4 separate regions of the Homo sapiens genome follow, and all the other regions are linked to region 3. Evidence: promoter capture Hi-C in 16 types of primary human blood cells and fetal thymus (Javierre and others, 2016). All regions are on one chromosome and are shown on one strand. The core of a region is centred on a gene start or on the middle of the fragment in contact, and the rest is flanking DNA. Distances in the headings are between cores, read along the strand shown. Region 1 overlaps GNPTAB (N-acetylglucosamine-1-phosphate transferase subunits alpha and beta). Region 2 overlaps GNPTAB (N-acetylglucosamine-1-phosphate transferase subunits alpha and beta). Region 3 holds the start of SPIC (Spi-C transcription factor). Region 4 has its middle 12 kb from the start of GNPTAB.

What was found. The method cuts DNA at HindIII sites, captures the fragments that hold promoters and counts their contacts. A CHiCAGO score of 5 or more calls a contact.
Region 1: a contact is called between a fragment that was not itself captured here and the fragment with the promoter of SPIC in region 3, in 2 of 17 cell types (M0 macrophages and M1 macrophages). The highest score is 5.7, in M0 macrophages.
Region 2: a contact is called between a fragment that was not itself captured here and the fragment with the promoter of SPIC in region 3, in 3 of 17 cell types (naive B cells, M0 macrophages and M1 macrophages). The highest score is 7.5, in naive B cells.
Region 4: a contact is called between a fragment that was not itself captured here and the fragment with the promoter of SPIC in region 3, in 3 of 17 cell types (total B cells, monocytes and naive B cells). The highest score is 7.0, in total B cells.

What each region holds. Positions count from the first base shown.
Region 1 is chr12:101,790,422-101,796,739 of GRCh38, reverse strand. It overlaps GNPTAB (N-acetylglucosamine-1-phosphate transferase subunits alpha and beta), which reads left to right. Exons shown (of 21, transcript NM_024312.5): 2 at 1-63. It also overlaps the pseudogene RNU6-172P. Among named protein-coding and RNA genes, the nearest start is that of GNPTAB, 37 kb to the left of the region's middle. The HindIII fragment of the contact is 1,061 bases long and covers 720-1,780 here.
Region 2 is chr12:101,765,091-101,769,598 of GRCh38, reverse strand. It overlaps GNPTAB (N-acetylglucosamine-1-phosphate transferase subunits alpha and beta), which reads left to right. Exons shown (of 21, transcript NM_024312.5): 11 at 1,439-1,562; 12 at 3,305-3,508; 13 at 4,295-4,508. It also overlaps the pseudogene RNU6-101P. Among named protein-coding and RNA genes, the nearest start is that of SYCP3, 28 kb to the right of the region's middle. RefSeq lists a cis regulatory region at 2,013 and an enhancer at 1,929-2,098. The HindIII fragment of the contact is 1,514 bases long and covers 977-2,490 here.
Region 3 is chr12:101,471,403-101,477,730 of GRCh38, reverse strand. SPIC (Spi-C transcription factor) reads right to left here and starts at 2,395. Exons shown (of 6, transcript NM_152323.3): 1 at 2,229-2,395; 2 at 824-903; 3 at 80-173. The coding sequence starts at 826. It also overlaps the pseudogene RNA5SP367. RefSeq lists an enhancer at 3,055-3,750. The HindIII fragment of the contact is 10,024 bases long and covers 2,090-6,328 here.
Region 4 is chr12:101,840,185-101,846,677 of GRCh38, reverse strand. No RefSeq gene overlaps it. Among named protein-coding and RNA genes, the nearest start is that of GNPTAB, 12 kb to the right of the region's middle. The HindIII fragment of the contact is 459 bases long and covers 4,263-4,721 here.

The sequences.
Region 1 (6,318 bases), core at 1-2,500, 320 kb before region 3:
TCAATACCATGTTTTGTTTGATTCCTATAGAGACAATATTGCTGGAAAGTCCTTTCAGAATCGGTAAGATCTATTTTGGAGAAATCTATTATTTGGACCTAAATCGTAAGTCATGAAATAGCCATCCTGTAAATATGACAGTTTAAGGGGTCTTTCTGAGTTATAGATATGGTTTAATTTACTCAGGAGTATGCCCATCTGATGTGTTCACTTTAGCAGCACATATACTAAAAAAAAGGAAAAAAAAACTGGAACGATACAGAGAAGATTAGTGTGGCCCCTGTGCAAGGGTGACACACCAATTCATGAAGTATTCCGTAAGATATTTTTTTAAAATAAGGAAAGAAAATATGTCCATCTGAAGAAAAGTGTGTTCACCACATTTTGTGGGTGAAAAATCTGATTCACAGAGAGTAATCCCACCTTGTAGTTTATTGGGTACCTTAAATTGCATGATTGCATTTTCTGTCTCCCCAGGTCTGTGAGGTAAAGGGAATTTCATCCCCCTGTAGGATGAGGAAACCAGGTGGCTACTACACAGCGGTTTCTGAGCCCTGGCCGGAATTCTGTTGACAGCGTCCTGTGAAATGGGACCACTCCCCAGTAAACCACTGGGGCTGAACCCCACTCCATTGGTCACTCTTGCTGCTTACCTATGAGGGAGGAGCAAATAGCCTCATACCTCATTAGTGTGGGTCTTTCCCTTGGAAGGCCAAGCTTCTTAGTGCCGCCATTCTGGAACGCAGTCTTCACCATTTCTTGTCTTTGGGGATTTTTTTTTTCCTCTTCACAAGACAGACCTCAGAATGGAAACAATTTTTTTCAACACCCTCCTTCCCTTTTTGCAGATAAAATGAATCACACAAGTCCTTTCTGGTTTTTGTTTCTGTCTTCTCACTATTTTTTTGGTTTATTTTAGAAAATGTAGTAATTTCATTATAAAAGGTGTTTATTTTATTTTATTTTATTTTTATTTTTATTTTTTTTTGGAGACAGAGTTGCACTCTTGCCCAGGCTGGAGCGCAGTGGCACGATTTCGGCTCACTGCAACCTCTGCCTCCTGGATTCAAGCGATTCTCCTGCCTCAGCCTCCCAAGTAGCTGGGATTACAGGCATGCACCACCACGCACAGCTAATTTTTGTATTTTTAGTAGAGACGGAATTTCGTCATGTTGTCCAGGCTGGTCTCAAACTCCTGACCTCAGGTGATCCACCCGCCTCGGCCTTCCAAAGTGCTGAGGTTACAGGCATGAATCACCGCTCTCGGCCTATTCTCATTTTAAAATGAATTAAGTATTTTTAAAATGTTTCAGTTTTATTTTCAAATATGGCAAATGTGGATAATTATAACCTTATAAACTAAAGCACTTTGGGGTCCATACTAATTTTTTAATTTTAAGGGACCAAACAGTAAAAGTTTGAGGACCATTCCTTAATATAGCAGTTCTGAAACTTTAGCTTGCAGTGGAGGGCTTAAGAAAATAACAGTTACTTCCCAGCCCAGAGTTTCTGCGTATAGGTTTCAGAGGGGTTCTGAGAATTTGCACTTCTACCAAACTTCCTGGTAATACCAAAGTTGCTGGTCTGGTGCCCCCACTGTGAAAACTACTGCATTAAAGGATTTTTAATGAAATATAATTTTCACTTTAACAAGTTAATTTCCCTAAGGAAAGTTCTAAATTGATTAACATTTTAAAATCAGATATTTATTGATTTGTGCCTTATGCTGTGCCACGTGCAGATGGTGCACAGATGCATAGATCCCTGCCCCGAAGAAGCTTCAAACGTTTTTAAAAATTTTTAAATTGATTTTAAAAATTAATTAATTATTTATTTTTAGAGATGAGGTCTTACTGTGTTGCCCAGGCTGGTCTCAAACTCCTGGACTCAAGCAATCCTCCCATCTTGACCTCCCAAAGTGCTGAGATTAAAGGGATGAGTCACCATGCCCAGCTGCTTTAAACTTTTAGAAAGAAAACTAGCTTATTAGAAAATGCAGATTTTGAGGTCAGCAGTTTTAATCAAACACTCTTGTTCTCTTTCTAAAGAAGTTTAGAAGGTTGCATTAAAATATAGTTTGATTTTTATGTAGGCATATATTCAAAATTTCCTCATTTTGATGATGACAAATAAATGGATCATATATAACATTTCACATGGTCTAATATATTTTAAGATACCATAACATTGATATATTTTCATTATTTTGCTAGTTTCTGTACAGATTTTTTATTTTTAAAATTTATTTATTTTAATAGAGATGGGGTCTTGCTGTATTGCCCAGGCTGGTCTCGAACTCCTGACTTCAAGCGATCCTCTTACCTCAGCCTCCCAAAGTGTTAAGATTACAGGTGTGAGCCACCATACCTGGCCAGTATAAATCTTTTTAAGGTTGTTTGCTCTGAATGAAAAAAATCCCATTCCATATGTCAGTAAAAGTGAATATATAAACTATTCACTGCTACTAATTGTGAGGCATTAAGTCAATCCGAGGCTCAATTTTGTCATCTGTAAAATGTGGATATTAGATTAAGAGCTATTGTATTAGATTAAGACTACAATCTCTTCCAACTCTTTGGTTCTAAAATACTATTGAAGGCCAGGCACGGTGGCTCACGCCTGTAATCCTAGCATTTTGGGAGGCCAAGGTGGGCACATCACATGAGGTCAGGAGTTCAAGACCAGCCTGGCCAACATAGTGAAACCCCGTCTCTACCAAAAATACAAAAATTAGCCAGGGCGGTGGTGGTTGCCTATAATCCCAGCTACTTGGGAGGCTGAGGCAGGGAGAATTGGTTGAACCTGGGAGGCATAGGTTGCAGTGAGCTGAGATGGCACCACTGCACTCCAGCCTGGGCGACAGAGCAAGACTCTATCTCTAAATAAGTAAATAAATAAATAAATAAATAAGTAAGACAAAATACTATTTAAGTTCTCTGTTTTCTCACCTACTTTATAGAATGTAGAACCAAGGGACTGTTAAGTGGCTTTAATATTCACTTAAACTAAACAGTGATTAAAATGAAAGTTATGTCAGTGTCATTGCTGCTTTGGTTCTGAGTTATGAGTGACTTAGTCTTAGTTTTCAGCTCCAAGATAATGCATTCCTTCTCATCTGTGAACCAAGATAGTGGTCTAGTGGTTAGAATGAAAGATTCAGAGTGTGACCATGTCTAATAGGAAAACAACTGACTCATTGACCTCGTGCAGATCACACAGTCTCCTTCCATTTGTCAGTTTTGCCAAAGTTAAATTGATCATGTAATACATGCAGTATATTATGTTTTAATCAGCTAAATAATATAATATAAATGATATATTAAAAATATTTAGTAGCAGGAAATATTTAGTTACAGGAAAGCTTAAGATGTAATTCTCCTCTCCTTTAACCTTTTCTTTTAAAAACACATCACTGAAGCAGTTTTTTAAAATTTATTTTTAGACTGAGCATAAATCACCTGGGAGGTTGGGAATGAGATGACCTTGGATAATTTACATGTGGGCAGTGTGAGGCAGATGGATTTTTTTTTAAATGAGAAAGACTGATATATATGATAAAGGAATGAACTAATAGTTAGGCAATAAATATGTATTAAACCCCACCCATGTAGGAGGAACTATTCTAGGCCCTAGGTATATAGTGGTGAACAAAATGAACTCATTGGCCTTATATAGAATTGGCATTTTAGTGGGGAAAAAAAGCGAAGTGTGTAACCTACATATAAATCAGTGGTTCCCAAAGTGCAATTTCTGGACCAGCAACATCAGCATTACCTGAGAGCTTGTGAGAAAAGGAAATTCTACAAACATTAGAATTTATTTATTGATAAATTCAGAAAAACCCTAGATAGGGAAACCTTTGCAAATCATTACAGTAGGGAGAGAGAGCCCGAAGGTGTAGGAAAGAGAGGAAATAATTAATGAAGCAGGGCACAGAATGCATGATAACATTTCTGCCCTAGAGATACTCCATCTAGTGGAAGATAGGGCTGCATGGAAAATAGCACAGCACAGTACAATCAGGATTCCTTACAGTTCAAAGTAGTGTGGAAGCTGCATATGAAGCTATAGATTCTCTTTGTGAGAGGTGAGGGAAGGGAGGGAATTGAGGAAGGAGGAGGTGGTTAAAGGAAGCATGAAAGAAAGAATGTTCTAGGCAGAAGGAAAAGCATATTCAAAGGTACAAAGTCCTGCAAGTTCGTTTCATCTTTGGACAAGGGTATACAATTGGATCATCCAGAACATAAGGTGCAGATTATGAAAGACTTTAGACCTTATTCTGCAGGCAGTGGTGAAACTTGACAAGACATTTGGTAAGTACTCAGCTATCACATATGCCAGAGAATAAGGTGATTCCTTATTTTCCAGATGAAGCTCTGGAACTCTGTTATCTCTTTGACCTTCATCTCAACTATTCTCTTCCATTTCCTCTCTCCCCTCTGCTCAGGGAACTCGCCTCTGGGTCCTTGAACAAGCAAGATAGGCGCCTGCCTCAGGGCATTTGCCTTTGGTGTTCCCTTTCTCTGGCACATTCTTCTCTCAGTTACCCACCTGGCTGGCTTCCTCACTTCCTTCATATCTTTGCTGAAATGTCACCTTCTTACTGAGGCCATCTCTGATCTCCCTATTTAAAACTGACCGCCCCGCCTCCCCATAGACACTCTTTCTATCCCCATTTGCTGCTTTACTTTCTCCACAACATTTAACATCATCTGACTTTATTTATTTGATTTACTTCCTGTCTTCTCCCTTCTGGAATGTAAGCTCCGTGAAGGCACAGATTTGGGCTTTGTTTTATTTACTGCTGAAACCCTAGCACCTAGAACAGTACCTAGCACATATTAAGCGCTCAATAAGAATTATTCAGTGAATGGAGAAACTCATCCAGTTATCTCCCCTACTTCTTGTAAGCTAAAGGTTGTTTCATTTCTGTTAATTTTTTTCTTTCCATAATTCAAAAGATTTAGCTACCAAATAGCATTTATTTTCCCACGAGATAATATGGTAGCAACTGAAAGTCTAGGCTGTGCCTGGGCTGTGAGGAGGACAAAAGGAGGGTATGCTTTGGTCCTTGGCCTAAAAATAAAACTGCAAAACCCATACAGTTTCTTGGAAAGTACTAAACTTGAAATAGCACTATCTAAAGAAAATTTGCCCAACCTGTGGGCCGTATGTGGCCAAGGACGGCTTTGAATGCGGCCCAACACAAATTTGTAAACTTCCTTAAAACATGATGAGATTTTTTTTTTTTTTGCGTGGTTTATTATTTTTTTTTTTTTGGCTCATCAACTATCTTTAGTGTTAGTGTATTTTATGTGTGGCCCAAGACAATTCTTCTCCCACTGTGGCCCAGGGAAGCCAAAAGATTGGACACTGCTGATCTAAAGTAGTATCAGTACCCAGATGTACACATGAACTCCTGTGTCATAAGTCAAAGTGGCATGCATCTGGGCAGGCCCCTGAAAGATGGGTAGGTTTTTGGTAGTGAGAGAAAAGGGAAGAGTGCTTTTGGCAGGGATAAAATCTGGGTAAAATCACTAAGGTGAGGCTTAAACAACATACTCAAGAATTAAAAGCCTGCCTGACTCTTTATTATGAGGACAAGATGATCAGGAAGAAATGGTGCAAGTTCAGGAAGGTCTTCTGTACTAGTGTCTCATATGTCAGCATATACTTATTGGTCACCTGTGTGCCAGGCACTCTTCTCATTGCACAGATACTTTAGAGAACAAAGCATGAAAGTTTTCTGCTTTCTTGGAGCTTACATTCTAGGAGAGGGCCACACATAATTAACGGAATAGGTTACAAGTTAATTATTTAATATGTTACAAAAGTAGTAAGTGCTGTGAAAAAAAAAAGGAAAAGCAGAGGTGAGGCTGGGGAGGGTGCAGGCTTGCGGGGGAGCAAGGCACAAGAAGGCTACAGCATTAAGTAGGGTTAGGTCTTCATTGTGGGTTTTGATAACTTTTTTTGTAATTTGTTCTTTTTTTTTTTTTTTTAGAGACAAGGCCTTGATCTGTCTCCCAGGCTGGAGTGCAGTGGTACGATCATAGCTCACTGTAGTCCCACCTCAGCCTTTTGAGTAGCTGGGACTACAGATGCACACCACCATACCCAGCTAATTTTAAAAATTTTTTGTAGAGACAGGTTCTCACTATGTTGCCCAGGCTGGTCTCAAACTCCTGGGCTCAAGTGATCCTCCCACCTTGGCCTCCCAAAGTGCTGTGGTTATAGGCGTGAGCCACTGTGCAGAGCCTGTAATTTTGTTCTTTAAACTTCTAATTTATTTTCTATGTTTGACGGCATTTGCATCCCAGC
Region 2 (4,508 bases), core at 484-2,983, 290 kb before region 3:
TATATATAGATATATGAGATCAAATAATCATTTTTGAGTGCTAAGCTCAGAAATCAGCAATTAAGAAGTAAGAACACTACAGTTAGAAATTTGCTTTCCTGCATTCTTAGACACCCAGGACCCACACTTTTTCCCAACCATCTCAATTTTCTACTACGATAGCAGAAAAAGCAAAATCACTGTGAAACAGACAATCATGGTTAGAATATCAGCAAAATGGCCAAAATAGAAAGTTAACTCAAGTTAGTGCTTAAAGCTATAGATGTAATTTCATTTAAGGTAGCCTGTTGCACTCTAACTTTGTGAGAGGTGGGATGGAGAAGTGGTTAAGAGTACAGACTTAGGGGCCAACTCTTCAGGATGACCTTGGGCAGTGGCTCTACCTCTGTGTTTTCTGGCATAGTGAGGAAAGTACAAATACCCTTGTAGCGTTGTTAGAAGGGTTCAGTGATAAGTTAGAGACTTATCACCGTAAACTTAGAAGTTATAAAACTCTGCAACTGTAAGTGCTAATAACACAAAACTACTTTGTCTGTAATTGTTTATGCTACCCAACCAGGCCCATTCTCCTGTTCCCCTATTGAGTTGTCTCCTCTGTATCAGACTGTAGGGCTCAAAGTTGAGCTTGTGGCTTAACAAGGGGACAAACAAGATCAATGACTGTGTGGTGCTTTTCCTGCTGACAGGTGTGCCTTGGTGCTGAGGAGTGTGAGCAAAGGAGGCTTAAATCAGATAGGATAGGGAAGAAAGCCCATCTGAATTGACATGTACTGAGAAGAACAAGTAAGAATTAGTTTAGGTTAAAAAAGACATTCCAATTAGAATATGCAAAGGCACAGAGATTTTTAAAGAGGAGTGTATTTTTTTTCAATGATTTTAAATTTGAAAAACCATGTACCCCATCACTAATTCTGAGAGCAGGTGAATGCACAGCTCAGAATGCTATGCCAGTTAATTTATCACAGGGCCTTAAGCTTGAAGAGAGAGGATATTGTCTCTCAGCCTTGAGACAAGATTATGCACAAATACACTAATGAGCTACTGATAGTTACAGAAAAGCAGTGACTGTGCATACTTCCCACCAGCTTTGACATGCTTTGGTACTTGCAGTCAAGTCTGGCATGGTGCTACTTTATTTCATAGTAGATTATCAAAGCATGTTATGAGAGACTAATCCATGAGTTGAATCCTTGTCTGCTTTCCTTGAGTAATGGAAAAAAAGTAAATACGCTCAGTAAGAACGGTCAACGCAGCAGGATCTAAACAATGACTGTAGGTACAGGCAAACTTAAAGCACTTGTGAGTGTGAACGCTGAGCCCTTTGAAAATTTTAATCTTTCTAGAGACTTAATTTCTTTTTATAAAGGGAATCTTAACTCAAGAATAAAATGTATCAGAAGCCAGAAGTCATTTTATTTTCTCTTTGGTTTTATCGTAGGTTTATTTGACATGGCCTGTGCCAAACTGTGCCGAGGGCTGCCCAGGTTCCTGGATTAAGGATGGCTATTGTGACAAGGCTTGTAATAATTCAGCCTGCGATTGGGATGGTGGGGATTGCTCTGGTAAGGATGTGTTAAACTGTAATTCGTTCATTTTTATGGAATATTTTCTTCTTAATCATTATTGAACATGTGCTATAGACTTAACCAAACATTCTTTATGTATTAATAAAGAATCAGTAATGCTGGGCATGGTGGCTCATGCTTATAATCCAGTGCTTTGCAAAGCTGAGCTGGGAGGAGTGCTTGAGGCCAGGAGTTCAAGACCAGCTTGGGCAACATAGTAAGACCCCATCTCTATCAAAAAAAATTAGCCAAGTGTGGTGGTGCAAACCTGTAGTCCTAGCTACTTGGGAGGCTAAGGCAAGAGGATCATTTGAGCCTAGGAGTTAGAGGCTGCTGTGAGCTGTGATTGCACCATTGTACTCTAACCTGGGCGGCAGAGTGACAGCCTCTCTCAAAACAAACAAATCAGTAATCAATGGACTCTTTGGAGGTGGTAATTAGTGCCCTCATGTGGCCCAGTTTATTCATTGTTGAGGGCATTGAACAAGAGAAAATACACTTGAAAATGTCTTCTTATTTAAAATATGAAAATCTGGAATACACTTATATAAATCCAAGAGCAAGAATCACTCTAACTGGTTCTTATAGGAGCTCACTGCTGGTAGCTTTCAGCAGCAGATTGTGATAGGTCACAGAATTACTAAAGAGTTGCAAAAGAAATAAGTATTTTCTCTCCTCAGCAGCTCTTCCCTCTCCCTCACATAGTTATATTTTGACTTGTTGATAATAGCAATTTGTTACATTTACTTACTACCTTTCAATTTATAAAGCATTAAATTTATAGAGCATTATTCATTATATTCACTTGAATTGTGTTTGTTACCTGAGAGAGAGAGAGAGTAAGTATGTACACAAATGTTATCATCCCCATTTCCATATGAAGAAATGGATTTGGAAATGTTTGAATATTGGAGAAAACAAAGCTTCAAGTTGTATTTCAGTCAGATATGTCAGATGCGCTTTAGCTGAGGAGAGAGAATACAGATGTGCAAAGTAGATCTGTGTAGACCAGAGAAGTCAGTCTCTACTGGAACATTAGCATTTGATAACAAGGGGTATCAAACATGTTACCCACGTTTGGACATGTTTTTGGCAGTTCTGATAGTCACAGTCTTTGGAATAATCTCTTCTTGTTTTCGTGCTCCTCCATTTCTGTCAGCACGTGCCCCTTGAGCAAATGTAAGCCCTGTACTTGTAGGTTGCACAGCTACAAAATGCCAGGGCCTGTTCATCACGCTTCTGTCAAGTGACTCCCTTTTACGTTTATTTTCTTCTTAAGGTATATGAGATCTTCTACTAAAGAATGAGGTGAACCTTTTCTGACTAAAACTTACACATCAACCTTGAAAACATCAATATGAAATAAGGAACTGTCTTTTTCGTTTTTTGTTTTTTGAGACGGAGTTTCACTCTTGTTGCCCAGGCTGGAGTGCAGTGGTGTAATCTTGGCTCAGTGCAACCTCCGCCTCCCGGGTTCAAGCAATTCTCCTGCCTCAGCCTCCCAAGTAGTTGGGATTACAGGCGCCCACCACCACGCCCAGCTAATTTTTGTGTTTTTAGCAGAGATGGGGTTTTACCATGTTGGCCAGGCTGGTCTCAAACTCCTGACCTCAGGTGATCCAGCCTCCTCTGCCTCCCAAAGTGTTGAGATTACAGGCGTCAGCCACCACACCCAGTCCAGAACTGTCTTTCAAAATTGTAATTACAGCAAGAATCCCTCTTCTTCCTCCGATCTACAGGAAACAGTGGAGGGAGTCGCTATATTGCAGGAGGTGGAGGTACTGGGAGTATTGGAGTTGGACAGCCCTGGCAGTTTGGTGGAGGAATAAACAGTGTCTCTTACTGTAATCAGGGATGTGCGAATTCCTGGCTCGCTGATAAGTTCTGTGACCAAGCATGCAATGTCTTGTCCTGTGGGTTTGATGCTGGCGACTGTGGGCAAGGTATGTTTACTGCCAAACAAATAAGAATGGGAGCATAAAACATCCTTGACAGGTAGAGAGAGTTTTGAATGGCTTTTGTTATTTAAAATAATGATTCTCTGTGTATCCCTTTACCAGCCTTGCATTCAAACTAGTTATGAAAGTAAGAGAACAACATAAATCACTGAAGAGGATCTTTTCCTGTTATTGTTGCAGTCTGGTGTTTTGTTTTGTTTTGTTTTGTTTGGACCAAGCAGATTTACCTTAGCTGAAAATATGTGGTGAAGTTTTAATTTGGAAACAAAAAAGGATATCAATAATTCATTAAATAAAGATGGTTCAAACACTGGATTTTGTTGATAGCGTATTAATGGAGTTTGTTTTGGCAGAAAGTTTTTTTCAAATGGATAAAAAGATGGAAATTGATTATTGTAATTTATTGTTAAGAACCATGCCATATCTCTATAGTGAGTCAGGATCACTATTTCATGGTAATTATTGTGACTGCCTCAGATAGTGAAATAAGCCCTATACCAGTAACTGTTGTATTAGGATATCTGATTATTTTGAAATTAAAGTCACTCTTAGAAAGTGAAAACTCAGTGCCTACTTCAGCAGCACATATACTAAAATTAGAACAGTTTAGGCATTAGCATGGCCCCTGCACAAGGACGACATGCAAATTCATGATGCATTCCCTATTATTTTTTTTAAAAGAAAGTGAAAACTCAGACTCAAAGAATTAAAGGAAAACAGAGGAAAAATGCCCAGTTAAAAAAAAAATCATGTTTCTGTTTTTTCCTCTAGATCATTTTCATGAATTGTATAAAGTGATCCTTCTCCCAAACCAGACTCACTATATTATTCCAAAAGGTGAATGCCTGCCTTATTTCAGCTTTGCAGAAGTAGCCAAAAGAGGAGTTGAAGGTGCCTATAGTGACAATCCAATAATTCGACATGCTTCTATTGCCAACAAGTGGAAAACCATCCACCTCATAATGCACAGTGGAATGAATGCCAC
Region 3 (6,328 bases), core at 1,146-3,645:
GATCATTATTCTTATATGTGTATGTGACCAACAAGCCATTTGATGTACCAGCAGAAGAGGGTAAATGACTCATCTTTACCTGGCGAGTACTGAAGATCTCCAGTTGAATGTTGCCTCAGAACCTCAAAAGCATCTTCAAATGCTTGACCCAGCTTGTCTTGTTCAACACACGTCTGTTGGAACAATGATAGAATTCTGGAGTTTTCGAATTACCAATTAAACTTAATCTCCCTGATTTAAAATAGTATTTAGTCTAAAGGAGGGTTTCTCAATCTTGACACTATGGGCATTTGGTGTTGGCTGTCTCTGTTGTCAGGGGGGCTGCCTGTGCATTGTACGATGTTTAGCAGCTTCCCTGACCCCTACCCACTGGTTGCCAGTAGTACCTTCACAGTTGTGACCGTCAAAAATGTTTCCGACATCACCAAATGTACCCTGAGGCACAAAATCAATCACAGTTGAAACACACTCCATTATAGTATACTATTTAGAGAATGGTATTCATTCTATAGTACAGTATTTAACATTATTGCAAAATTTTAGCAAGGAGTTGTAGAGCAGAGGAGAGTGATTTAGAAAAAAAGGGCCAAGGAAATATCTTCAATGAAACAGAACCTATGAATTGTTGTTTAAAAATGAAATGCTCTTATGTCTCCAAGACCTAAAATTGAATTGCTTTGCAAACTATTTCATATCCTTATTAACATGATCGATATATTTTATTTTTAAAATGGAGGGAGAGTAAAGAAAAAAGTTTTTTAATTATTATGCTGTAGAGCTCCTCTGTGGACAGAGTAAAGAAAATATTAAAATGTCAGCTTACCATATTTCATTAATAAATTGACAATTCTGTTCCTTAGCAATTGTTGCTTGAAGAAAATAAAATAAAATAAGTTGACAATCCTGAAAAAGTTTAATATTTAAAAAGCAAAATTAAATGCAGTCTCTAATTTGATTCTGAATAAGATCTTGCTCAAAAATATTTTCTGAAAATACCTTACATAAACCAAGAGTACCTCCTGAATTCTCTTTGATGAGTACAAATTTTTTTCTACGAAATTTTCTACAAACATTTCTTTTTGCTTTTCCATGATTACAAAATGCTTTAAATATTAAAATAGCTATATATTTAATTATCTGAGCTGCTTGATTGATAAGAGAAAGTGGAAATAACTCAAAAGTATATATAAGTATTTCAAAATTATTTTAAATATTCTAAAATTCTGAAAATCAAAATCCTTTTTACCTTAGCATAGCTTTATAAAAATAGGGCTTTTTTAAAAAACCTTTCTTTGGTGTTATATTGCCTTCTGAGAATCTGGCAAAAGCCATCCTTTTCCTCCCATGAAAATTGGACTTATATTGCAAATAAAATTTAGCCTGTGAAGACTATCCTTGGACTTGCTTGAATCCTAGGCTAAGAAAACTCGTCTATAATTTTGTTATTTACTTTCTTATCTCTAAGTAATTCTGATTTTGCTTTAGAGAAACAATTATCACACCGACCCACAATTAAATGCTTTTAACTCTACGTTCTATAGACCAACACAGGGAACAAACAAACAAAAACCAACCCACATAATAAAAAGAACTGTGGTGGGTCCAAAATTGCTTATCATTCCATTAAGTAAACCCAGCAGTTCTTTTTATGCAAGTATTTATCTTCTTAGTATTTACCCGCAAACACAATGTGTTTACTCTTTAGTGTTTAACTTTGAATAATAAAATGAGATGATGTAATCTAATGCCAATATTATATATATCCATCATATATCAACATAACATATTAAATATCAAAATTCTGCTTGGCTCTTTGAAATCATTACATCATGTCAGTTAAAAGAAAATAGAAGAAAATCCAGAAATCACTCTTCGGCTCATGGTCTTTAGTGAATATTATCAGTAGCACATATTTTTTAAAAGCCATGTCAGTGATTTTCAATTAACTGCTTTGACTCAAAAGTGCAGAAGCACTGAATGTTGTATTTTGAATTAAATATTTAAAAATGAACATGTTCTCTTTGACTAAAATGCTCCACAAGACTATCGCAGCTATTACAAGTAGCAAATCTAAAAGGAAGAAAAAGCTTGAAAACATTATTGATTACTATGATTGCTTAATATTTCTTGCATCTGAACACGCAGACAGTGAGAAACACTCATTAGGCCAAAGGAAAAAATGAACAGTGATTAGAAGATATTTAGAAAAACATAAGCTGAGAACTTACCGGGAAGACACTTCAACCCTTTATAGAGATGTTTCATTAATATCAGAACGGTAAATTCAACGGTAGGCTATCATGAAAATAAAAAATTATTTTCCAGTGCAATGGCTCTGATGAAAAAAAATAGTAATATTTTTTTTAAAAATTAGAATTGTTAAGACATAACCATCAAGAACATACTGGCAGAGTTGCATTAAATAGCTGTTTTTAAGGAAGTTCTTCAAAAGGGGATTTTTTTTAAAAGATACAGTGCCTTCACAATTTCTATTTCATGATATGATTAGTAGACACCAGGGGCTATTATTTTGAAGAGGCACATAGTAGTTTGCATCCCATCAGCCAAAAAGCAAAAAAGCATTAGAACAAGCCCCATGAATCCCCCGCCCAACTTAGGTTGCAGCTCTTCAGATTGCATAGCCCCACCGGAAACTTCTAACCCAGGCAACTCAGGCCCACCCTTCTTTTTTTAATTCATATTACTTCTCTCCCAATTCTGGACTCTATACTCTCTTTCTTGCCTGGACTGTCAACAGCCTTCACTCTGGACTCTCCAAATCGGTCTTTCCTCCTAAACTACTTTACTTACACTGCCATTCACTGATCGCCTTAGAGAGCTTAAAGGCTTAGGGCCCTTGTCCTGACATTCAAGGCTCTTGAGCCTTAGCCTTATATCTTGCCACTCAGTTGAGTGGGGATAATAGAATCCATGCTCTTGCTTTCCTCCACACCTAAATTCAGTAGCGGCTCCAAAATGGTTAGGAAAACCTTATGGGGGGCCATGTGGTTGGACATACCTGAGGCTGCTGCATTCCTAATGCAGGTCCCGTTCTCTTACTTGGCTTCAAGGTTTATTTGGGGTGGCTCTGTTGGAAATTATGAGACGCTCCCTCCACCTAAAATACTTTCCTCCCAGTTCATCCCCCTGCAGATTCGCCCATTTTATGTTACCTGTCCATCAGTGTCCAAAGCAGCATCCACTTGTACACGGTGGAAATAACCTTCCTGTCCCCTGAAACACATGTCTGCCTCTCACTTGGCTAACCTGAAACCTGCCATTTTAATAGCTGTCACATTTTGGCCAGGGGGAAAACCGCCTAAGAATTTTTTGTAAACCTTGTGGGTGGGGAGAGTGAAGAGGGTCTGTGATTTCAAAGCTGCCAGTAACTTCAGTTTTGCATTGTTGGAGCCTAACCTCACCTTTGATAGGGGACTATTGTTTTGGACCAATTACTTTTTTGAGCCAATTTGTTATGCAAATGTTAACACACAGTCCTTCTTCTGATATGCAGATCTTATAATAACAGGTATAAAACGGTAATCACTAATGTTGATTTGTTTTTAATCTGTACTAGTCTACACCCTTTTCAAGCCACCTTATTTGGTTCATTCGTTCAACATATTACTGAGCTCTTCACTCTTCTGGGCACTGCCCCATGTCCAGGAGCTACAGCCCTGAACAAATCCTTATGAGAAGAAATGATTTTTAAAAAATAAACACATTGGTAAAGTATTAGATAAGAAGTGTCAAAAACAACAATACAAAAGAGAAAGATTATGAAGACAGTGTGCGAATAGCCAGGAAAAATCTCTGAGGAGGAAAGCGGTGTGAGCTGAAACCCAAGAAGAAGACTTAAGAGTGAGCAGGCGGGCAGGGTGTCTGGTGCCTATATCCCCGCTAAGCAGCTACACAGGAGGATGGCTTGAGGCCAGGAGTTTGAGACCAGCCTGGACAGCACAGTGAAACCCCCAAGAAAAATGGAGTGCCTCCCCACCCTGCCTCAGAAAAATGAAGGAGTGAGCAAAACAAAAAGCAGAGATGCAAATATTTGGAGGAGCACCTCCTGGCAGAGGAAGCAGCAGGTGCAAAGAGCCTGGGATGGAAATGAGTTTGGCATTCAAGACACAGAAAAAAAGCGGGAGGAGGAGAGGAGGCTGCAGGAAAATGCACCTGGGGGCTAAGAGGCAAAGTTGGAGAAGAAAGAGGCAGGATCCAGATCAACATACACATCAAGCCCTAAAATAATCACAAGTCATGTATGGCAGTCGTTATCTGTGTACCCCCATGTCACAGATGAGGAATCTAAACTGAAGTTCAAAGATGTTTTGTGATTTTCCCTAAGGTTCAACTTCTAGTGAGGTGGGCTGGGCCAGATCCAAATTTGGGTTAATTCCACTTCATGTGCACGCTCTCAGCCCTGGAGACCTGTGTGTGCAGTTGAGGCTGCCTTCGACCAGGTGCTCAGTCCCAACGGCAAACTCCACAGCACCCAGCCCATGCTTGTCACATATTAATACTACAGGTGTGGTGAGTATTTGAAATGAATGTAAACACAGTGAACTTTTTTTTTTTTTTGAGACAGAGTCTCCCTCAGTCCCCTAGGCTGGAGTGCAATCGCATGATCTTGGCTCACTGCAACTTCCACCTCCTGGGTTCAAGCGATTCTCCTGCCTCAGCCTGCCGAGTAACTGGGATTACAGGCCACCACCACATCCAGCTAATTTTTGTATTTTTAGTAGAGACGGGGTTTCACCATATTGGCCAGGCTGTAATCCCAGCTACTCAGGCTGGTTAATTTTTGTATTTTTAGTAGAGATGGGGTTTCACCATGTTGGCCAGGCTGGTCTTGAACTCCTGACCTCAGGTGATCCACCCGCCTTGGCCTCCCAAAGTGCTGGGATTACAGGCCTGAGCCACTACACCCAGCCTGAACTTTCTTTTTTTTTAATTTTTAATTTTTATTTTTATTTCCAAGATGGAGTCTCTGTCACCCAGGCTGGAGTTCAGTGACGTGATCTCGGCTCACTGCAACCTCTGCCTGCCGGGTTCAAGTGATTCTCCTGCCTCAGCCTCCTGAGTAGCTGGGATTACAGGCCCACGCCATCGCACAGGGTTAATTTTTGCATTTTTAGTAGAGATGGGGTTTCACCATGTTGGCCAGGCTGGTCTCAAACTCGTGACCTCAGGTGATATGCCTGCCTCGGCCTCCCAAATTGCTGGGATTACAGGCATGAACCACCACGCCTGGACTATTTTTTTTTTAATGTAAATAAATTAAAACCCTGATATTTCTAGGTGGGATCTCATCCAAGTACTAAACTGGCCCTACACGCCTTGGTGTCTAAAATCGGAAGAGGTCAGGCCTGTTCAAGGTGTTATGGCCATAAAAAAGTGATTTTTTTTTTTTTTTTTTTTGAGAGTGAGCCTTGCTCTATCGCCCAGGCTGGAGTGCAGTGGCACCATATCAGCTTAATGCAACCTCCACCTCCTGGGTTTAAGCAATTCTCATGCCTCAGCCTCCCAAGTAGCTGTGATTACAGGCGCCTGCCACCATGCCTGGCTAATTTTTCTATTTTTAGTAGAGATGGGGTTTCACCATGTTGGCCAGGCTGATCTCAAACTCCTTACTTAGCTCAAGTGATCTTCCAGCCTCGGCCTCCTAAAGTGCTACGATTACAGGCATGATTCACCGTGACCGGCCAACAAGTAAACTTTCTAAGCTAGCATTTCCCCAACTATTGTCTCTAGAGTTTGATTATGCAGGATATTAATAAATGAACCTGGCAAAAGTGTTGAGTGGAAGCTAGGGTTGCTGCCTAGAACTTCCTTAGTGAAGTCAATGAGTGTGTTGATTTTTTTTTTTTTTTTTTTTTTGAGGTAGGGTCTCACTCTGTCACTCAGGCTGGAGTGCAGTGGTGCAATCATAGCTCACTAAAGCCTCAACCTCTTAGGCTCAAGTGATCCTCCTGCCTCAACCTCCCAAGTAGCTGGGACTGCAGGCAGGCACCACCATGCCGAGCTAATTTTTACATTTTTTGTAGAGATGGGGTCTCACCATGTTGCCCAGGTTGGTCTCGAACTCCTGGGCTTAAGCCATCCTCCTGCCTCGGCCTCCCAAAGTACTGGGAATACAGGTGTGAGACACTGCATACGGCCTGTTGGAGATATATGTATATATATACAACCCTACGTTACAGATGCAAAAACAGAAATGCAGCTTTAGGGTTCTCTGTAGGGCTAAGATGTGAAGTTGTTTTGGCATCTTGAAAAGTTAATGCAATAGACTTTTAGCATTTTAGAAGTCAAAACTCCTATCTCTTGAGAA
Region 4 (6,493 bases), core at 3,243-5,742, 370 kb before region 3:
ACAGGCGTGAGCCACCGCGCCCGGCCTCAAAGTACTAGGATTACAGACATGAGCCACCATGCCCAGCCAGAACAATATAACATTGAGGTCAGTTTACAAAAGACAAAACAAAGGTGAAACATTTACAGAGAAAACAAGCAGCAGGGAGAGCTATAGGAGATTTTGTCTTCTTTTACATGTTTTGTACTAAGAATATAATAGTTTAAGAAAATAAAACTAAACTTTAAAAACAAAAAGAATATTAAAATGCATTTCAATCATACATGAAAGCAAATATTTACTATTAGCAGTAGGTTTTTTTGATTCTCAACTATATTTATGTAAAATTTTTAGCCAGGTTCTGCGGCTCACGCCTGTAATCTCAACACTTTGGGAGTCCGAGGCAGGTGGATCACTTGAGGTCAGGAGTTCAAGACCAACCTGACCAGCATGATGAAACCCTGTCTCTACTAAAAATACAAAAATTAGCTGGGCATGGTGGCATGTGCCTGTAATCCCAGCTACTCAGGAGGCTGAGGCAGGAGAATCACTTGAGCCCGGGAGGCAGAGGTTGCCGTGAGCCGAGATCGTGCCACTGCACTCCAGCCTAGGTGACAGAGTGAGTGAGACCCTGCGGCTGGGCTGGGTGCAGCAGTTCACACTTGTAATCCCAGTGTTTTGGGAGGCTGAGGTGAACTCAGGGGTTTGAGACCAACCTGGGCAACACAGCAAAACCCCATCTCTATTTACCCTAAAATTAAAAAAAAAAAAGAAATTATTAAGTGCAGTGGCTCACACCTGTATTCCCAGCACTTTGGGAAGCTGAGATGGGGGATCACTTGAGGCCAGGATTTGAGACCAGCCTGGGCAACATACTGAGATCCCATCTCTCAAAAAAAATAAATAAATTTAATTAGCTGGGCATGGTTGTGCTTGCCTGTCATCCCAGCTACTCAGGAGGCTGAGGTGGGAGGATCACTTGAGCCCAGACCTCAAGGCTGCAGTGAGCTATGATTACACCACTGCACTCCAGCCCGAGTGACAGAGTGAGATCCTGAAAAGAAAGAAAGAGAGAGAGAGAGAGAAAGCAAGCAAGAAAGAAAGAATCTTCTTTAGAGTAACCCAGTCCACACAGAAAGTAATTCACTGGTCATTTCCACTAGAAAGAGATTAGTCTGACTAGCTGGTTATGATCTTATTGTAGTCTTGTTACTATGGTTACTGAAGTCGCAGTGATGTGCTTGCTGGTGTTGAACATCTTTGGAAGTTATCATTGTGGATGCTGCCACTTACTAGTGAAATGTGTTGACTCTGTTGCCATATTCTGTCATTTGGACAAGGAATTCAGGCAAGTTGTAGGCCCATGTCCACCGTGAACAGATCATTCATTTATTTATTTTACAAGCGTTGCTGAGTCCCTACCCTGACAGAATGCTGAGGGGCACAATGAGGATTTGAAGTATGAAGCACAGACCCTGCCCTGAAAATGCTCATTCAAGAGATAAGTACACACATGAGGATTTTAATTAAACCGTGATGTTAAGTACCATGAAATTGTGAAGTCTCACATTTATAGAGGATTCAACAGTCCAATCCTATGAGATGGGTAATGCCAAATAAGGGATAAGAATTTACTAACAGGAAAAAAAAAAATCCATGAAGGGAGTTGGAGTGATTTCTGAGGTTCCAGCTTAAGAGGCTGGGAGAGTAATGGTGCCATTGATGGAGGCACAGAAGTTAAAACAGGGAGATGATTTAGGCACAAAAGATGGTGAGGGCCGGACGTGGTGGCTCACGCCTATAATCCCAACACTGGGAGGCCGAGGCAGGCAGATCACTTGCAGTCAGGAGTTCAAGACCAGCCTAGCCAACATGATGAAACCCCATCTCTACTAAAAATACAAAAATTAGTCGGGTGTGGTGGTGTGTGCCTGTAATCCCAGCTACTCGGGTTGCTGAGGCAGGAGAATTGCTTCAACCTGGGAGGCAGGAGGCTGCAGTGAGCCGAGATCACACCACTGAACTCCAGCCTGGATGACAGAGAAAGACTCTGACTCAAAAAAAAAAAAACACGGTGAGATGGTGAGATGTTTGCTTTAGACCCCGAATGTATTGGCTAGTTTTCATTTGCTCCCAGATTCATTCCCATACCCTTTGCTGACCACATGGACGGTTTTACACAGACTCTCCTAACCTCTGGTTTCAACCAATGGGAGGCACCAGGAAGAGATCAAAGGGGTGTTTCTCTCCTGCCTAGCTGCATCCCTTCTCACAGTGCTGCATCCCTCCACTATGGTAGGGCCTGTCATTTAGTTTCCTTCCCACGGCTCCAGCTCTCACCATGCTTACATAACACCAGTTTCTTGATGACATCATCAGATATCTCACTGCCTTCTATAAAATTTCTTTTTTTCCCTCCTTCTTTTTTTTTTTTTTAGAGATGGAGTCTCACTGTGTCCCCCAGGCTGGAGTGCAGTGGCGCAATCTTGGCTCACTCCAGCCTGTGCCTCCCAGGTTCAGTAGATTCTCATGCCTCAGCCTCCTGAGTAGCTGGGACTACAAGCACCCACCACCACACCTGGCTAATCTAGAAATTTTCTTGAAGACATTATAGTTGCCATGAAATAAAATGTAGAAGTAAAGCAGAGGGCAGAGGTCTAGTCTATGTGAACTGAACCACCACCTAGAAACGGCAGGAGGTAGACTACAACCCAGAAAAGGAAGTCATCAAAGATCTTCCAGAAAAATCAGAAACGTATTCTGTCCTGGACACCAAAGTAAGACAACATTTCAAGAAAAGATTATTGAAGACATCCAATACTGCAGGAGGGTCAAGGAGAAGATAAACCAAAATATACTACTGGACTTGTTAGTTAGGATTCACTATATCCACTGCATTTCATTATTTCAGACGTTAGTTTTAATAGAAGCAGGAGTAGATGCCAGGTTGTTGAAGGTTAACCAAATTTAAAAAGTGGGCAGAGGGTTTGAAGAAGACTTTTCAGCAAAGAAAGCACACAAATGGCATGCACATATAGTGGCACTGTTCACCTATAATGAGTTTATTTTATTTTATTTATTTTGAGACAGGGTCTCACTCTGTTGCCCAGGCTGGATTACAATCTAGTGTCATGATCACAGCTCACTGCAGCCTCGACCTGCTGGGCTTAAGCAATCCTCCCACCTCAGCCTCCCAAGTAGCTGGGACTACAGGTGTGTGCCAACATGCCTAGCTAATTAAAAAAAATTTTTTTTTTGTAGAAATGGGTCTCACTATGTTGCCCAGGCTAGTCTGGAACTCCTGAGCTCAAATGATCCTCTCTCCTTGGCCTCCCAAAATACTGGGATTACAGATGTGAGTTACTGTACCCAGCTAATGGGTCAATTTTATAGAATCTTGTTTTGTGTGTGTATATGTGTGTGTGTGTGTGTGTTTCTTTGTTTGTTTTTTGAGACAAAGTCTTGCTCTGTAGCCCAGGCTGGAGTACGGTGGCACGATCTTGGCTCACTGCAAACTCTGCCTCTTGGGTTTAAGCTATTCTCCTGCCTCAGCCTTCTGAGAAGCTGGAATTACAGGCCCACGCCACAATGCCTGGCTAATTTTTTGTATTTTTTTTTACAGAGATGGGGTTTCACCATGTTGGCCTAGGTCTCAAACTCATGACTTTGTGATCCACCCGCCTTGGCCTCCCAAAGTGCTGGGATTACAGGCATGAGCCACCGCGCCTGGCCTAATTTTATAGGATCTTAATTATAATCTCAATAAAGTTAAATAGAGAATTTTCAAGGAAATTGAGGAAGAATAATTAAAGCAATATACATGATTGCTCAGCAGACAATGAGGCTTTGACCCATGATTTTTTGTTTATTTAACCTTATTTGAGAGAAATTTATCTTAATAAAAAAGCACGTTTCTAGAGGAGAATTCTCAAAATTAATTAGTGGTGAATCTGCATATTGTGTGACACGAAAATAAATCCAACAAGAATGACTTTACTTTGAATCTAGGTTAATATGATGTAAGATGTGAAAATGGTAAAACCAGTCCTGCCTTATCTCATTTACAATTTTAATGTTGCTGCTTTAAACTAAGAATCCAAAGAATATATAGGCCTTGGAAAGGAATAGGGCTGTCCACATTGGAAGGGACTTATAATGTAGCTTTTAGAATCTTTTTGTTTTACGTGCACCTCATAGCAGAGCAATTGAGATAAACCTGCAGCTGGTTCGAACTTGATGACAGAAGAAAAGACAACAGAAAATCTTTTTCCTTTTCATAAGCTTCTCTCTATTCACACTAACCCTAATAATTATTCACCCTTCTTTTGGTATAATCTAGGGGTTCTTGCCACATTCATTTATTCGTTCCTTTAGCCTAAAATGTCAGAAGCACCAGTTATTACTCTTTCACTGTGATATTTATACTTTGGATAAATTAACTCTGAAATTTCCTTGTTGGTTGGCATCACTTGGACTTTTACTGTGCTCCTGGGATTGGTTACAGTGAGTTTAATACATCTAGAGCACTGCCAAAGCATTATAGCAAAATATCAGAGTATCCCTGACAGTATTCTGGAAAGCAGACTATGCAAAATGCAAAAGTCTCCCTATTTAATTATGAACTTGACATTGCAATGAATTAGAGAATCAGCATTTATGGATAATCAAATATATATATTGAGTGCTCACTGCTTTGGGTGTTTTGTTTGCTTGTTTGTTTGTTTCCGGTGGGGTTGGAAGCTTTGGTTTTAAGGAGATGAAAACTAAAGAAAGTTCCAAATGCTTGGAGATCAGAAAATTGATCCAGTTTTCAAACACCAGGTACAAAGATGAGGGTAGGAGTTAGCTTTTGCAAATAGGTAGATTCTGCAAAGTACATCACAGTGGACTTCATATTGATCCTGAGGTTTGTGAGAACTTAAACAGGGAAGAAATTAGGAACTAAGGGGGAGACAGGAGAGACAAGACAGACAGAAAAATACACAGAGGGAATTTTCTTTCTTTCTTTCTTTCTCTCTTTCTTTCTTTTTTTTTGAGACAAAGTCTCACTCTGTTGCCCAGGCTGGAGTGCAGTGGCCTGATCTCGGCTCACTGCAAGCTCTGCCTCCTGGGGTTCACGCCATTCTCCTGCCTCAGCCTCCCGAGTAGCTGGGACTACAGGCGCCTGCCACCACACCCGGCTAATTTTTTGTATTTTTAGTAGAGACGGGGTTTCACCATGTTAGCCAGGATGGTCTCCATCTCCTGACCTCGTGATCCGCCCACCTTGGCCTCCCAAAGTGCTGGGATTATAGGCGTGAAACACTGAGCCCAGCCTCTTTGTTTCTTTCTCTCTCTCTTTCTTTCTTTCTCTCTCTCTCGCTCTCTCTTTTTCTTTTTCTTTCTTTCTTTCTTCTTTCTTTCTTTTCTTTCTTTCTTTCTTTTTCTTTCTTTCCCCCTCTCTCTCCCTTCCTTCCTTTCTTCCTCCTTTCCTTCTTTTCTTTTCTTTTGTCTTACTCTTTTGCCCAGGATGGAGTGCAGTGGTGCTATCACAACTCATTGTAACCTCAAACTTCTCAGCTCAAGTGATCCTCCCTCCTCAGCCTCCCAAGTAGCTAGAACTACAAGTCTGTACCACCACACCTAGCTAATTTAATTTTTTTTTTTTTTGAGATGGAGTCTCACTCTTATCACCCAGGCTAGAGTACAATGGCACAATCTCGACTCACTGCAACCTCCCCCTCCCGGGTTCAAGCGATTCTCAAGCCTCAGCCTCCTGAGTAGCTCGGATTACAGGCATGCGCCACCAGGCCTGGCTAATTTTTTTATTTTTAGTAGAGACGAGGTTTCGCCATGTTGGCCAGGCTGGTCCGTCTTGAACTCCTGATCTCAGGTGATCCACCCGCCTTGGCCTCCCAAAGTGCTGGGATTACAGGCGTGAGCCACTGCACGCGGCTAATTTTTTTTCTTTTCATAGAGATGGGTCTCACGATGTGCCCAGGCCAGTCTTAAACTCCTGGGCTCAAGCGACCCTCCAACCTTGGCCTCCCAAAGCACTGGGATTACAGGCATGAGCCAAAGCCATTGGTGAGAATATTTTCTTTTTGAGCAAACCTGAAACTTTACAAAAATGGACAATGTGCTAGGCAACGAAGGAAGAGTCAATGAATTCCAAGGAGTTTTACTATTATACAAGCTATGTTCTCTTACCTTATTTTGGTCAGGGTAATTATTTGTAGATTAAGGAATCTATTCACTGATTTAAACAGAAAGGGATTAAGTTGGCCTACCCATAAGCCCTCAGGAGGTCTGAACAAAGAGCCTTTACCTATGACAGTATTCTAGATAGAGACTACTAGGTTGAATTTGTAAGATCAGGTCCTAATACTCCACTGAACTAAGCTGTCAAGGGAGCTACTGACGCTGCCGGGATCAGAAAGAGCAGGATCAGGATGCTTTCTACAGAGGCAGGAAGCTGCTTCCAACTGCACCACACCTGCCTTGACTCACTCACTCCAGCCAAAACAGGCGCCCT